Linked DNA regions of Homo sapiens: region 1 is linked to region 2. Evidence: promoter capture Hi-C in 16 types of primary human blood cells and fetal thymus (Javierre and others, 2016). All regions are on one chromosome and are shown on one strand. The core of a region is centred on a gene start or on the middle of the fragment in contact, and the rest is flanking DNA. Distances in the headings are between cores, read along the strand shown. Region 1 holds the start of HDAC8 (histone deacetylase 8). Region 2 holds the start of JPX (JPX transcript, XIST activator).

Region 1 (6,551 bases), core at 446-2,945, 1.4 Mb after region 2:
TCGCGCCACGGCACTCCAGCCTGGGCGACAGAGCAAGACTCCTCTGTCTCAAAAAAAAAAAAAAAAAAAAAAAGAATGCAAATTCCTTGAGAGCAGAGATCACATCATAATTTACCTTTGAATCCTCAGCTGTACTGTACACTTAATATCAGATAAATGTTTGATGAATGAATGACTGCAGAGCTTTTAACTAGTTACTATGGGAAGACATAAATTAAAGAAACATAAGATCTTACATTCTAGTTACAGAGCACATCACCAAAACACCCCCAAGATTTTCAGAATAAGTATTGAAGGGATACAAAATGGAGGGTGAACAAAGTTATATCATAACACAAAGTCATCCTGGACGAATCAAGTTTATATAATAAAGGGAATGTTCAAAGGCTTCAGTGTCAGGCTGACCTAATTTTGAATTCCTACTTATCTGCTTGTTAAGTATGTGATTTTGAATGTTGTTTCTCTAAACTGCATCTGTAAAATGGGTGTATTGCAACCTCCTTTATAGGACTGTTGCAAGGATGAAATGAGATAATATGGCCAATGTGCATGTCACAATCTTCAATAAATGTTTAAAGTCTAAAAAGCAAGCCAGACTTTAAATATAGTAAGGATATTAGGTTGTCCCAGTGGTGTTAGTCAGTCAGTTTAGGTTGCCATGAGAATTAAGATCCTGAGCACTGGCCAGCTTGTATCAGATCATAGGGGCCTCCAGGAACCTCCAAATGCTGATGGTAATTCTAAAACCGCCTCAGATAGTCTTAAACTGGACCCTCACACCAAACCTAAAATATTTCCCTAATCTATGTTTAGCTGCAGAAACAAGAGGAGGTAGGAGGAGAAGAGCTGCAGTTTCCAAACACCACTGCTTGCAACCTTCCTACCACATGAATGTTCAAGGAGTTACATTTGACATCATTGCTTGATCGGAATCTACCAAGCAATTTCCACTGCACCAGCCAGTCTCTTGGGAAAGTACTATCAGATTTGCCAGAGTAAATTATTGAGATTGTTAACTCTCATGTGGACATGGATAGTTAATGATGAAAAGAAATGAACTATAAAATTGCATCACAGAATTTACTGTGTAAACTTTTCAAACCATTTGTGCCATTAAATAGCGCCCCCACCAAAAAAAAAAAAAAAAAAAAAAAGCCTATCCTTAGGATAGGCAGCTGATGTAGCTGGATGGTGGGGGCTCTAGGTGGCCACGTTCTATCTGTGTTTATATGGTTAAATGGATGAAATGGATGTGTTTGCAGATTGAAACAATTCATAAAGAGTTGAGGCTACTTTTTTTTTTTTTTTTTTTTGGTCTTAGCGCTGAAACTAAAAATCGCGGTTATTTTAGTGTTTAGCCCCGGCTCTTCCGTTGCTCAAACCTCCGGAAACTACATCTCCCAGCATGCTGTGAAACTGGTCTGACTTCATCTCAAATGGCCCCGTAGGGCAACAAGGATGGTTAGTTTTGACCCTACTTATTTGTGCCATAAAAACAATCGATCCTAATTGACAGCTATTTGGACTTTTACATCTGCCAAACCCTTTTCCTTGAACTGTGGTCACTAAATGAGGGGAGTCTGGTCTGGGAAGTCCCATCCATTCCTTCAATAGGATGGGGAGCGGTGATAGTGTCTCCGGCGATCTCAAGAATAGGAGGGAATGTTGACCAGGGAGCACCGCTGCGGCCGATCAGAGGAGCAGGAACTGGAACCCTGGCCGAGTCCGAAAAAAGCCAGATCTGGAAGGTGGCTGCGGAACGGTTTTAAGCGGAAGATGGAGGAGCCGGAGGAACCGGCGGACAGTGGGCAGTCGCTGGTCCCGGTTTATATCTATAGTCCCGAGTATGTCAGTATGTGTGACTCCCTGGCCAAGATCCCCAAACGGGTAAGGGAAGTCGGGATGAAAGACCATGGGCTTTGGGGGTGGGGGTGGGGGCGGTGGACGAAAGAGCGTTAGGAAGCGGAGAGGACACTGGGCTGGGGGAAATCTTCAGAAATTTCGAGTAGCTGTATCAGATACCTAAAGCTGTATCAGAAGGAAGTGTTCTCATATCGTTTCTGAGAGCGCAGCATGTCTCTTCGGGACGTCCAATGGACAGGTAGGAGTGGGGGAGGGGGTACGGAGGAGGGGAGAGGACGCAGTTTCCACTCATAGGGGACCGCTGAAGTCGTGGGAAAACAAGCTGCAGGGGGAAGGTGTTCCATCACCTGCCTAAGGCCCGGTAGCTTTCACCTTAGTGATTTTGATACTTTGTATCTGTATTGTCTAAAGTGTATTGTAACTGTTAACAGAAGGGAAGCCAGTTGAAACAAAATTAATCCGTTCCTTTGTTCAGGATGGTGAGATTGACGGGGATTTTGCTGAATTAAACTTTAAAGAGACTATTTCTGCTTTTCTTTTTTTTTTTTTACGCTGATGTTTTTAGGCCAGTATGGTGCATTCTTTGATTGAAGCATATGCACTGCATAAGCAGATGAGGTAAGTTGTCTTTCTTGAACATAGCCCTGAAGCTAGGTGTTCGTAGCCTTAATATCCTGCTTCACAGTGGGGCAAGGAAAAGAATGGTCTTTTGAAAAAATTATTTTAGCTTTCTGTGAAAGTATTCACAGTGTTTGTAATCTGCCTGTAATCCCAAGAAAGCTCTTGAAGAATTAAGAAAACTTGGGGGGCCGAGAGCATGGCTCACGCCTGTAATCCCAGCACTTTGGGAGGCCTAGGTGGGTGGATCGCCTGAGGTCAGTAATTTGAGACCAGCCTGCCCAACATGGCAAAACCCCGTCTCTACTAAAAATACAAAAAAATTAGCCGGACGTGGTAGCGGGCGCCTGTAATCCCAGCTACTCGGGAGGCTGAGGCAGGAGAATCGCTTGAACCCCGGAGGTGAAGGTTGCAGTGAGCCGAGATTGCACCATTGCACTGCAGCCTGGGCAACAAGAGTGAAACTCCGTCTCAAAAAAAAAAAAAAAAAAAAAAAAAAAAAAGAAAGAAAGAAAGAAAAAGAAAAGAAAACTTGGGACAGGGGAGTGGAAAGTGCAGGAAGCAGTTAAGGTTCATTAGAAATACAGCTCGATTGCTTGGTTAAGTATCCCAGGGGTAGGTGCAGTGCATTGTGGAGATTTTGAGTACATTTGGGTATTAAAACCTGTCTCATACAAAAAGGTGTTCAGCTAGGAGGTGTTCCATTTTTCTTTTGATTTCGTTTCATTCTAAGCCAGATTTGAGGGTGTGAGTTCAACCTAAGACTTTTAGACAACCCACCACCAGCACCAAACTTTAATGGGTGAGGCTGGAGACAGATCAAGACCAAAGAAGGCCGGGCGTGGTGGCTCACGCCTGTAATCCTAGTACTTTGGGAGGCTGAGGCAGGCGGATCATGAGCTCAGGAGATCAAGACCATCCTGGCTAACACGGTGAAACCCCGTCTCTACTAAAAATACAAAAAATTAGCCGGGCGTGGTGGCAGGCGCCTGTAGTCCCAGCTACTCGGGAGGCTGAGGCAGGAGAATGGTGTGAACCCGAGAGGCGGAGCTTGCAGTGAGCCGAGATTGCGCCACTGCACCCCAGCCTGGGTGACAGAGTGAGACTCCGTCTCAAAAAACAAACAAACAAAAAAGACCAAAGAAAACTGCCAAGACTGCGCCAGAACTCAAGAGAGAGCTAACTGTTTCTTCCAAAAACATGAACTTGCTGTTTATTGCCATTTCTGTATTTGATGTCGTTATAAGAGCAAATATAACCCTGCCACATATAGGATTACTTATGACAATTTCTGGCCAAATAGGTGAGTGCTCATACCAACTAGTGTGCTATGCTTCATTTATCTCCCAGAAGGTAGTGTAATAATAGGCTTTCAGATTTTATCCTTATTATTAACAAAATCATTTTGTACCTTTTAAAGGGAATTTTTAAGCCTTTTTTTTTTTTTTTTGATGGAGTCTTGCTTTGTCGCGCAGGCTGGAGTGCAGTGGCGCGATCTCGGCTCATTGCAACCTCCGCCTCCCAGGTTCAAGCGATTCTCCTGCCTCAGCCTCCCGAGTAGCTGGGACTACAGGCACGTGTCACCACACCCATTTTAAGCCATTTTTTAACCCATATGGTTTGGTTAACATAGTAACTATATGCCTTCCATTAAAGTTATTTAACATTTCAAAAAATTATTTTATGACAAACAAGATATCAAAGCAAAGCAAAACTGTCCAGTTTGCTTACTGTTAAATAGGGAGGTTTTCAGTAAGTGTTTTTTAACATTTACCAAAATAAATGGAAGGGTACTAGAAGAGGGAGCTTTTAGGACTGGGAAATACGGTCCGAGATATTACAAAATTTTTATTTTAATGGGTAGATTTTTCACCTCTGGTGGTATAGATTTGTCTTCTTTAAGAAGAAGCAAGAATTCTTGGGTCTTGGCTATGTATTTCACTTTTGAGGCCAAACCACAGGATTTCTTCCAGCTACCTTGGTGATAGTAGTAGCCTGTATAGTCGTATTCATTCATCGTAAACTCATGGCTGTGTTCCCATTCAGCAGACATTTAAAACCACTGCTGCCTCCCTGTGGCCCAGGTCAGGGCTCCTTCAACTTGAATGTGTATATGAATCACCTTAAAATGTGTCATCTTGTTTAAAAATCATCATGTTAAAATACAAATTCTGACTCAGGTCTGAGGCAAGTCTGAAGTTCTGCATTTCTAACAAGCACCCAGGGAATGCTGATGCTCCTGGTCTATGGACCACCCTTTAAGTGGCAAGGGCTAGAGAACAGTAGTGGCAGCTGTGGGGTCAAGAAGAGGAAATGGGGAATAGGCAGCTAGAGGTTAGATGTGGTAAGGCCTCTTATTGGGTTAGCTCCCTTTATTCCCTCACTCGCTTCTATTTGTCATTTTTCGTGAGGAGTAGGTTGAGAGGTTCTGAGTGAAGTCCGGTTCCAACCATTTTGCCCCTTCTCGCCTCGCTCTCAGAGGCAGATAGGAGGGTCCAAGTCTAGAAACATTACATTTTGGGTTGCCCATTTTTTATCTGTTAATAGAATGATAGTTATCCACCAAGCATTTTTGTATGTGTTATCCTTTTATCTTCACATAAGTCCCATAAAGTTCCCCATTTTACAAATAAGAAAACTGAACTACAGAACAGTTGACTTATCTGAGGTTATAGAGCTAGTAAGTACAGAATTAGGACAGGAACCCAATTCTCTGACTCCAAATCTGACTCCAAATTCAAAATGCATGATAACATAGCTGCCTATTAAAATAAAGATATAGCTGAAAGGATTAGATAGCCCAATTCGCAACTGGTTCAAATGAAAATATCCCTGCCTACTAGTTTGTCCTGAAAGTTGTAACTCACAGGGTAAAGTCTGTCTGATACCTGATTATTTGTTTAACTTGAATATAATTACTTTTGTTTACTTACCTATAAACTCAAGGGAAAATCTATCTTCTTGCCCCTTATTAATAGAGTCACTACTGTAGATGTGAGGCAGTGAAGACCGCACAGTGCAGTGGAAGAACAGAATATGTTTATTACTCCAGCCTATTGGAACCAGAAGTTGAGACGTATTTTCTTCTCAGACTGCTGGCTTCTGTTTCTAGCTTCTGGCATACGCTGGGTCTGACTCACTGACCTCTCTTTGTTCTCTCTGTTATTATTAGGATAGTTAAGCCTAAAGTGGCCTCCATGGAGGAGATGGCCACCTTCCACACTGATGCTTATCTGCAGCATCTCCAGAAGGTCAGCCAAGAGGGCGATGATGATCATCCGGACTCCATAGAATATGGGCTAGGTAAAGTCATTACCAGGCAGTGATGGGAGATGGACAGACTAATTTTTTTTATAACTTGTATGATTTTTTTAATATTTTTCGTTAAGAAATCATGTGTTAACTGTCAATCTTAATCTTTTGGTTTAGCCACATATAACTCACTAAACAAGCAAACCATATGAGTTGAGCAAAACCACATGAAGGGTTAGATGAAAGAAAACCTTTCAGTTGCTTATGCCCTACTGGCAGTGCTCAGATCTGGTCTGGCTGTGTATATGCTGATTTAGCTGTCCTGTGACCTTATATTTTAACTGGAGTACAGATTTATGTTCTGGCTAAGTTTTTGTACCTCACCCCTCATTAAACAGCTGCATTTTTTAAAACTGTAAGTGACCTGCAGGATAGTCTAGAAAAACAGCATGGTTTAGCAGAGGAACATTGAACTGGGGGGTCAACAGAGCTGGGTCCCAAGCCTGGCTCTGTGTGACCACTGACAAGACACATCACCTCTCAGGCTTGGTTTCTCTATCTGTAGCCTGTGACTAGTTCATCAGGAGGGTTTATCCTTTCTAGCTCTAACCTTTTAAAATATTATATCCCCAACATTGGAGTTGTTTCTGTCTCAGTTGGAGCTGATATTAGCACAGTGGCTTTTTAGTAGGTTAGGTTGTTGTCACACCTCAACCTATTCCTCCTCTTTTTCCAGTTCACCTTTTAACCAGCTCTTCTGATTTTTGCCCTAAGGTTATGACTGCCCAGCCACTGAAGGGATATTTGACTATGCAGCA
Region 2 (6,584 bases), core at 1,079-3,578:
AAAAAAAAAAAAAGTCAGATAGACACTTGCTTTCTTCTTTCATTGACTTTTTTTAAAAATTCATCTTCAATATTTACAAAAAATAATCCATGCTAGAAGTTGCTATGTCACAGAAGTTTAAGAAATGCATGGTAAAAATCACTAAGTTTAAAATAATGGTTACCTCTGGGGATGAGAGAAGAGAGAGATGCAATCAGGGATGGGTACACAGAGAACTTCAACTGTCACGTTAATGTTTGATTTTTTTTTTACGTTGGGTGGTGAGAAGAGAGGTTCATTGTATTATTCCTTGTATATCTGTATATGTCTTAAGTATTTCATAATATATTTAACGTCTCCTCCAAAAGATAAAGAAGTTAATCTTGCATTCCTTCATCACCCCATCAAAAAAAAAAAAGGACTCATACTAGACTATTCTGCAACTTACTTTTCTCACATAACCATCCATCATAAGATTCTCTAGGTCAAAAGTCAAAATATTTCATAATATTTATGTACCAAAATTTACTCAAACATTCTCCTATTGATGGATACACAGGTTGTTTCCAGTTGTCACAAGAACAAAATAGTACAAAAGTATCCTTGTTCATGCGTCATTATATACTGGTACTTTTATTTCTGTAGGATAGATTCTTAAAAGTCAGACTTTTGAATTCCAGTTTTTGTTCAAGTGATATCTGTATTTTTTATTTCCCTAAATATTGCCAGATTCTTTTCTAAAAGGTTGCAGCAATTCATACTCCGCGGTAATGCATGAAATTTACTTTAATCACATAAGCATTTAACAACATATTAGATGTCACTCTTAACTGTCTTCCCCATATATATAGTAAACATGCTATGCTTAACATAAACTTAATTTCGCCAACAGATTTGAAAACAGGAAATCTAGCTCTTTTCTTAGTGAGTAATCAACCTGGCAATGTAAGTCCCCCAAAGATTACACACACACACACACACCTCTGAGATGCTTCAAGAACAAATGTTAAGTTTTTGCCCAAAACTCCACATTTGGGGTATAGTGGGCACAGAAAAAAATTGTTTAATCTAGTGCATAATGAATACGTTACAAACAAATTAATTAAAACTAATAAGTCTGGACATGAAAGGCAGAACAAAAAAAAAATAAAGTTAGGCCCAAGAGGTTAGGCTGTTCCTAGGAAAGCTCTGAGGAGATGGAATCCATTTTGGCGCGACATGGTGTCAATAAAAACCCATTTAAATAAGGAAAAAGGAAAGAACGACCCATATATCCCTCCTAGGAGCTACCTTCTGCAACTTCCAAGCTTCGTCAGTAGAAGTTAGGCGATCAGCGAGAAAGAAATTATTCTCCGATATTTTGAAGAGACTGGAGAGAGAAAAATGGAATACAGGCCGGTTACTCCCCCGACTCAGGCCACGCGATCCCAAAGTGTGTAGCCTCGCTAACGGCCACTTCTCTAGCCAACGTGAGGCTCATCACTCACCACAATACTATTAACTGGCGAGTTTCTGGACTTTTGTTAGTGGACTCATACTTCGGACGCCTTGCAACCCCCGTAAGGACGCAGTGATTGCACTCCGTGCAAACGCCGCCATCTTAAGTCTTCCACTAGCCCTAGGGCATAGGCGGATGAAAGCCGGGGGTGGGCGTCACAGCCAAACAGGCCCGGCGCCCAGCCGTCGTGCACTACCTAAATGCCTCCGCCGGCAACATGCACCAGCCGTTGCCGTGCCCCAGCCGTTGCCGTGCCGCAGCCGTTGCCGTGCCGCAGCCGTTGCCGTGGACCCTCCCCCAGTTTCCTGACCTGTTGCACTTCCTCTCACAGCCTTTATCTCTTTTGAAATTCCCTTTTCCTTTTTCTTTCTCTTCATTTCTTTTTTCCTTTCCCAACCCAAATTTCTTTTAGCTTTGCCTCGACTCCTTTCTTTCTTCCCTATTTCCAGATCTCTCACTCTCATTAACTTTACCTCACAAGTATGATAGACAAAGCTGCCATTCACTTCTGTTATCTCACTAAGTCATTGCAACATCAGGTAAGCTGAGGACTGATTTTTTCCTGTTTTATAGATGACGAAATTAAGGCCCAAAGAGGTGACCCAATTTTCCAAAAGTGCTAGAATGAGCTAGAACCTACTTCTTTTCACTTTACTAAGCCCCGTGTTCCGATAGATGAGGGTGTATGTACTTCAACCAACTAATGGGAAAACAGAAACCAGAGGGTTTTGGCCTAGTCATACAGTGAGTCCGTCAATGGCAAAACTGGATTCAGAACAAGGTGCTTCCTTTAATTCTGTAAACAAAAGAGTCTTCATAAAAGAGTTGGTAGCCAGGTGTGGTGGCGCTTGCCTGTAATCTCAGTGTAATCCCAGCTACTTGGGAGGCTGAGGTGGGAGAATCGCTTGAACCCGGGAGGCGGAGGTTGCAGTGAGCTGAGATCGTGCTGCTGCATTCCAGCCTGGGCGACCGTGCCAGACTCCGTCTCAAAAAAAAAAAAAAAAAAAAAGAGTTGAGATGCTGCTCTTGAGCCTAAAAGTCCTTCCATCTTCCCTCTTCTTTTATTTATTTTTGTTTTATTTTTTTGAGACGGAGTCTTGCTCTGTCGCCCAGGCTGGAGTGCAGTGGCGCGATCTTGGCTCGGTGCTACCTCCGCCTCCTGGGTTCAAGCGATTCTCCAGCCTCAGCCTCCTAAGTAGCTGGGATTACAGGCATCTGCCACCATGTCCAGCTAATTTTTACTAGAGACGGGGGTCTCACCATCATGGCCAGGCTGGTCTTGCACTCCTGACCTCAAGTGATCCACCCGCCTCAGCCTCCCAAAGTGCTGGTATTATAGGCGTGAGCCACCGCACCCAGCCTCCCTCTTCTTTTAGATTCAGCTCTTTTAGATTCAGTCCTGACACTTCTAAGAGGCCTCTATATTTATCAAAACCTTTATCTCTGTTGTTCCCGCTCCATGAGGGAAAATACACTAGCTGGATACCAGCCCCAAAAGTATGAAAAAACCGAGGCCAAAACTTGTTTGTGAAGCATTATGTGTGAGTGGTGCAGGTTTCTGGGGGAAGGCTTGTGCTTCACCGGTAAGGAAAAGACACTTTAGAGGTCCTAATCCCTTTCCAAAGCTATAGTTTCTCTCTATGCACTAATGTTGTCTCTGGTTTTCTACGAGACCCCCACATAGAACACCTCTTATTCTATTCATTTGCATCATTACTTTTCTGTCTTTATTTTGATATCGTCACCCTCAAAAGGAAGGTAATGATACACAGTTGTATAAAACATCTGGGCATTGACATATGGACATTTTGGAGTAAAACACCAAAAACACCACATAAAACCAGTTACGTGTTCAAAGGTCAGTAATAGAGGTGGAGAGGTCTCTAAGCTTAAACTGTTTCATCTCCTAGGGTTTAGGCATATTTGAGCACATCTTGGAAATTTGTAGGACAGGCACCAAAAACCAATTGCAAAAGGAACTGTTGAGCTCCTAAGAAAGAACTAGTACTAAAAGAGTAGGGAATCAGATAGACAATGTAGGGTAAAAGAAGGATCAAGTCTGAATGTTGCAGAGGAGGCAAATATGACTGTAAATTCTGTCATATTTTCTTTTGGCAGTAGCACACCATGCATTTATTTTGGGGCAGGTACAAAACATCCCTCTGTAGTAATTTAATGGTAAGTAGAAAGGGGGATAAAAATGAGTGAAACCTGCCGGGCACGGTGGCTCATGCCTGTAATCCCAGCACTTTGGGAGGCCGAGGTGGGCGGATCACCTGAGATCAGGAGTTTGAGACCAGACTGGCCAACAATTACAGCAATACAAAAATTAGCTGGATGTGGCGGTGGGCACCTGCAATCCCAGCTACTCGAGAGGCTGAGGCGAGATAATCACTTGAATCCAGGAGGCGGAGGTTGCAGTGAGCCGAGATAGCGCCACTGCACTCCAGCCTGGGCGACAGAGCAAGACTCCGTCTCAAAAAAAAAAAAAATGAAATCTATTGCAGTTTTGTTCTGATGACTCTTGGGACTTTGTCTGTTTGGGAGGAAAATGACTTTTTATTTATTTATTTTTTTTATTTTTTTGAGACAGAGTCTCACTCTGTCACCCAGGCTGGAGTGCAGTGGCGCAAACTCGGCTCACTGCAACCTCTGCCTCTCCTCTCTCGGGTTCAAGCGATTCTCCTGTCTCAGCCTCCCATGTAGCTGGGACTACAGGCGCAGGCCCCCACACCTGGCTAATTTTTGTATTTTTAGTAGAGACGAGGTTTCACCGTATTGGTCAGGTTGGTCTCGAACTCCTGACCTCAGGTGATCCACCCGCCTTGGCCTCCCAAAGTGCTGGGATTACAGGCATGAGCCACCGTGCCTGGCTGAATTTTTTAAATACACATATAAAGAAATAATCAGCAGGAAGCATTATTCGAGAAATAGGCTTATAAAGCTGCCAGTCAATTTTTTTTTTTTAACAAATTGATGCACTGGTTTTATTTGGTAATGTTTCGAATTGAAAAGTGCTAGACCCAGAGACCCAGGGACAGAAAAGCTATATTAATTCACAGCCACGGTGCAAGCTTCATGCCCCTGCCTCCACTCACTCACATTTCCCCTAGTCTACCTGCCTCAATTCCAACTTAAGAAAAATGCCTCCAGAAAACACCAGAGACAGAGTTTGGTTGCCAGGTTACAATATTTCCTCTTGAAGACTGATCTTGGTAGCTTCCTGGACTACTGAACTAGCTAGTACCTATTTCATTCTCTGTGGAAACCCACTTTTCCTCTTACATAAGTAATTGTTCCAAAGGTAAGAAAGCTGCCTCCTGAAAGAATATAAAATCCAAATAGGTGAAAGGAGAGTTGGGATTTTACCATCATCCAGCCATATTTGGCAGGCACTTGCTTAGAAAGGGCTCTTATTTGGAAATTTTACAAACAAATTTACAAAGGCAATGACCCCTGGGACAATAGTTCATGTTATCTTTGCATTCACAATTTAAGACAAATAAATGAGTAACAGTCTTAACAGCTAAAATGATAGATGCTGAGTTACACTAGAACAAATTCATTTGAAACATGAGTTGGAACAAGAGTGAAACCATCTCAAAAATAAAATAAAATAAAATAAAAAAGTACAATTTGCGGTGGCATGTGGGAGAACAGATATAACAGAATTTATTCATTCATTAAGAACTTACATGTAAAGAATAAGACTACACAAGTGGGTGATGAATGCAATCCAGTATTAATCTTCAAGGAGATTACATTCAAATCGGAGAGGGGAAAAAGAAAAAGAATCGTAAGAAGTGTCTTTATCCAAGGCACTGTGCTAGGTACAAGGTAGAAATAGAAGTGAGAGTTGGGGCCGGGCACGCTGGCTCGCGCCCATAATCCCAGCACTTTGGGAGGCTGAGGGGGGCAGATCACTTGAGGTTAGGAGTTCGAGATCAGCCTGGCCAACGTGGTGAAACCCCGTCTCTACTAAAAATACGAAAATTAGCCAGGTGTGGTGGTGTGCGCCTGTAATTCCAGCTACTCAGAAGGCTGAGGCAAGAGAATTGCTCGAACCCAGGAGACAGAGGTTGCAGTGAGCCAAGATTGTGCCATTGCACTCCAGTCTGGGTGACAAAGCGAGACTCTGTGCCAAATAAATTAATAAATAATAAATAAATAAATAAATAAGGTAGAGTTGGGTATGGAGATGAATCTACCATGAATCTTAGCATTAGGGAATTTATTTTCTAGTAGGGAGAAATAAAATGTGAAGGTTGGGTAATTTTTTTTTATTAGGGGCTTAAGGGGATGAAAAAGTATTTCATACATAAATTTCAGCACCCAAAATAATTTATAAAGTTATACATTTTGCAAAGCACTGTACCAAGTGATGTAGGGAATGGGAAAAACAACAAGAAGGGAATTTATAAATGTAATGTGAGCCAATGAAGGCAATATATTAGAAAGAAGGATGTATCATGAGATGTAAAATCACGCCACTTAAACTATATATAAAGTTGACCAATCCTAAAGCTCCTTTTTAAGCTGAGCTATAATTCACATACCATAAAATTCACCCTTTCTAAGAGTACAAGTCAGTGGTTGTTGATATATTCACAGACTTGTGTAACTGTCACTACTATCTAATTTCAGAACATTTCCATTACAATAAGAAACCCCATACCCGGCCGAGTGTGTTGGCTCACACCTGTAATCCCAGCACTTTGGGAGGCCGAGGCGGGTGGATCACCTGAGGTCAGGAGTTCGAGACCAGCCTGACCAATATGGTGAAACCCCGTCTCTAGTAAAAATACAAAAATTAGCTGGGCGTGGTGGTGGGTGCCTGTAATCCCAGCTACTTGGGAGGTTGAGGCAGGAGAATCGCTTGAACCCGGGAGGCAGAGGTTGTAGTGAGCCGAGATCTTGCCACTGCACTCCAGCCTGAGCAACAGAGCAAGACTGCATTTCAAAAAAAAAAAAAAAAAAAGAAACCCCATACCCATTAGCAGTTACTACTCATTACCTCTTCACCCAATCAGCCCCTAGCAAACACCATTTTTTTGTCTCTATGGATTCGCTTCTTCTGAACATTTCATTTAAATGAAATCAACAGGTG

The links. The method cuts DNA at HindIII sites, captures the fragments that hold promoters and counts their contacts. A CHiCAGO score of 5 or more calls a contact.
Region 1: the fragment with the promoter of HDAC8 here is called in contact with a fragment that was not itself captured in region 2 in 1 of 17 cell types (total B cells); the score reaches 5.3 in total B cells.

Annotation. Positions count from the first base shown.
Region 1 is chrX:72,567,987-72,574,537 of GRCh38, reverse strand. HDAC8 (histone deacetylase 8) reads left to right here and starts at 1,695. Exons shown (of 11, transcript NM_018486.3): 1 at 1,695-1,887; 2 at 2,429-2,481; 3 at 5,654-5,784; 4 at 6,508-6,551. The coding sequence starts at 1,777. RefSeq lists an enhancer at 1,603-1,732. The HindIII fragment of the contact is 11,149 bases long and covers 1-6,551 here.
Region 2 is chrX:73,939,348-73,945,931 of GRCh38, reverse strand. It overlaps JPX (JPX transcript, XIST activator), which reads right to left and starts at 1,608. Exons shown (of 5, transcript NR_024582.1): 1 at 1,467-1,608; 2 at 1,270-1,348. RefSeq lists an enhancer at 1,484-1,583. The HindIII fragment of the contact is 2,079 bases long and covers 1,289-3,367 here.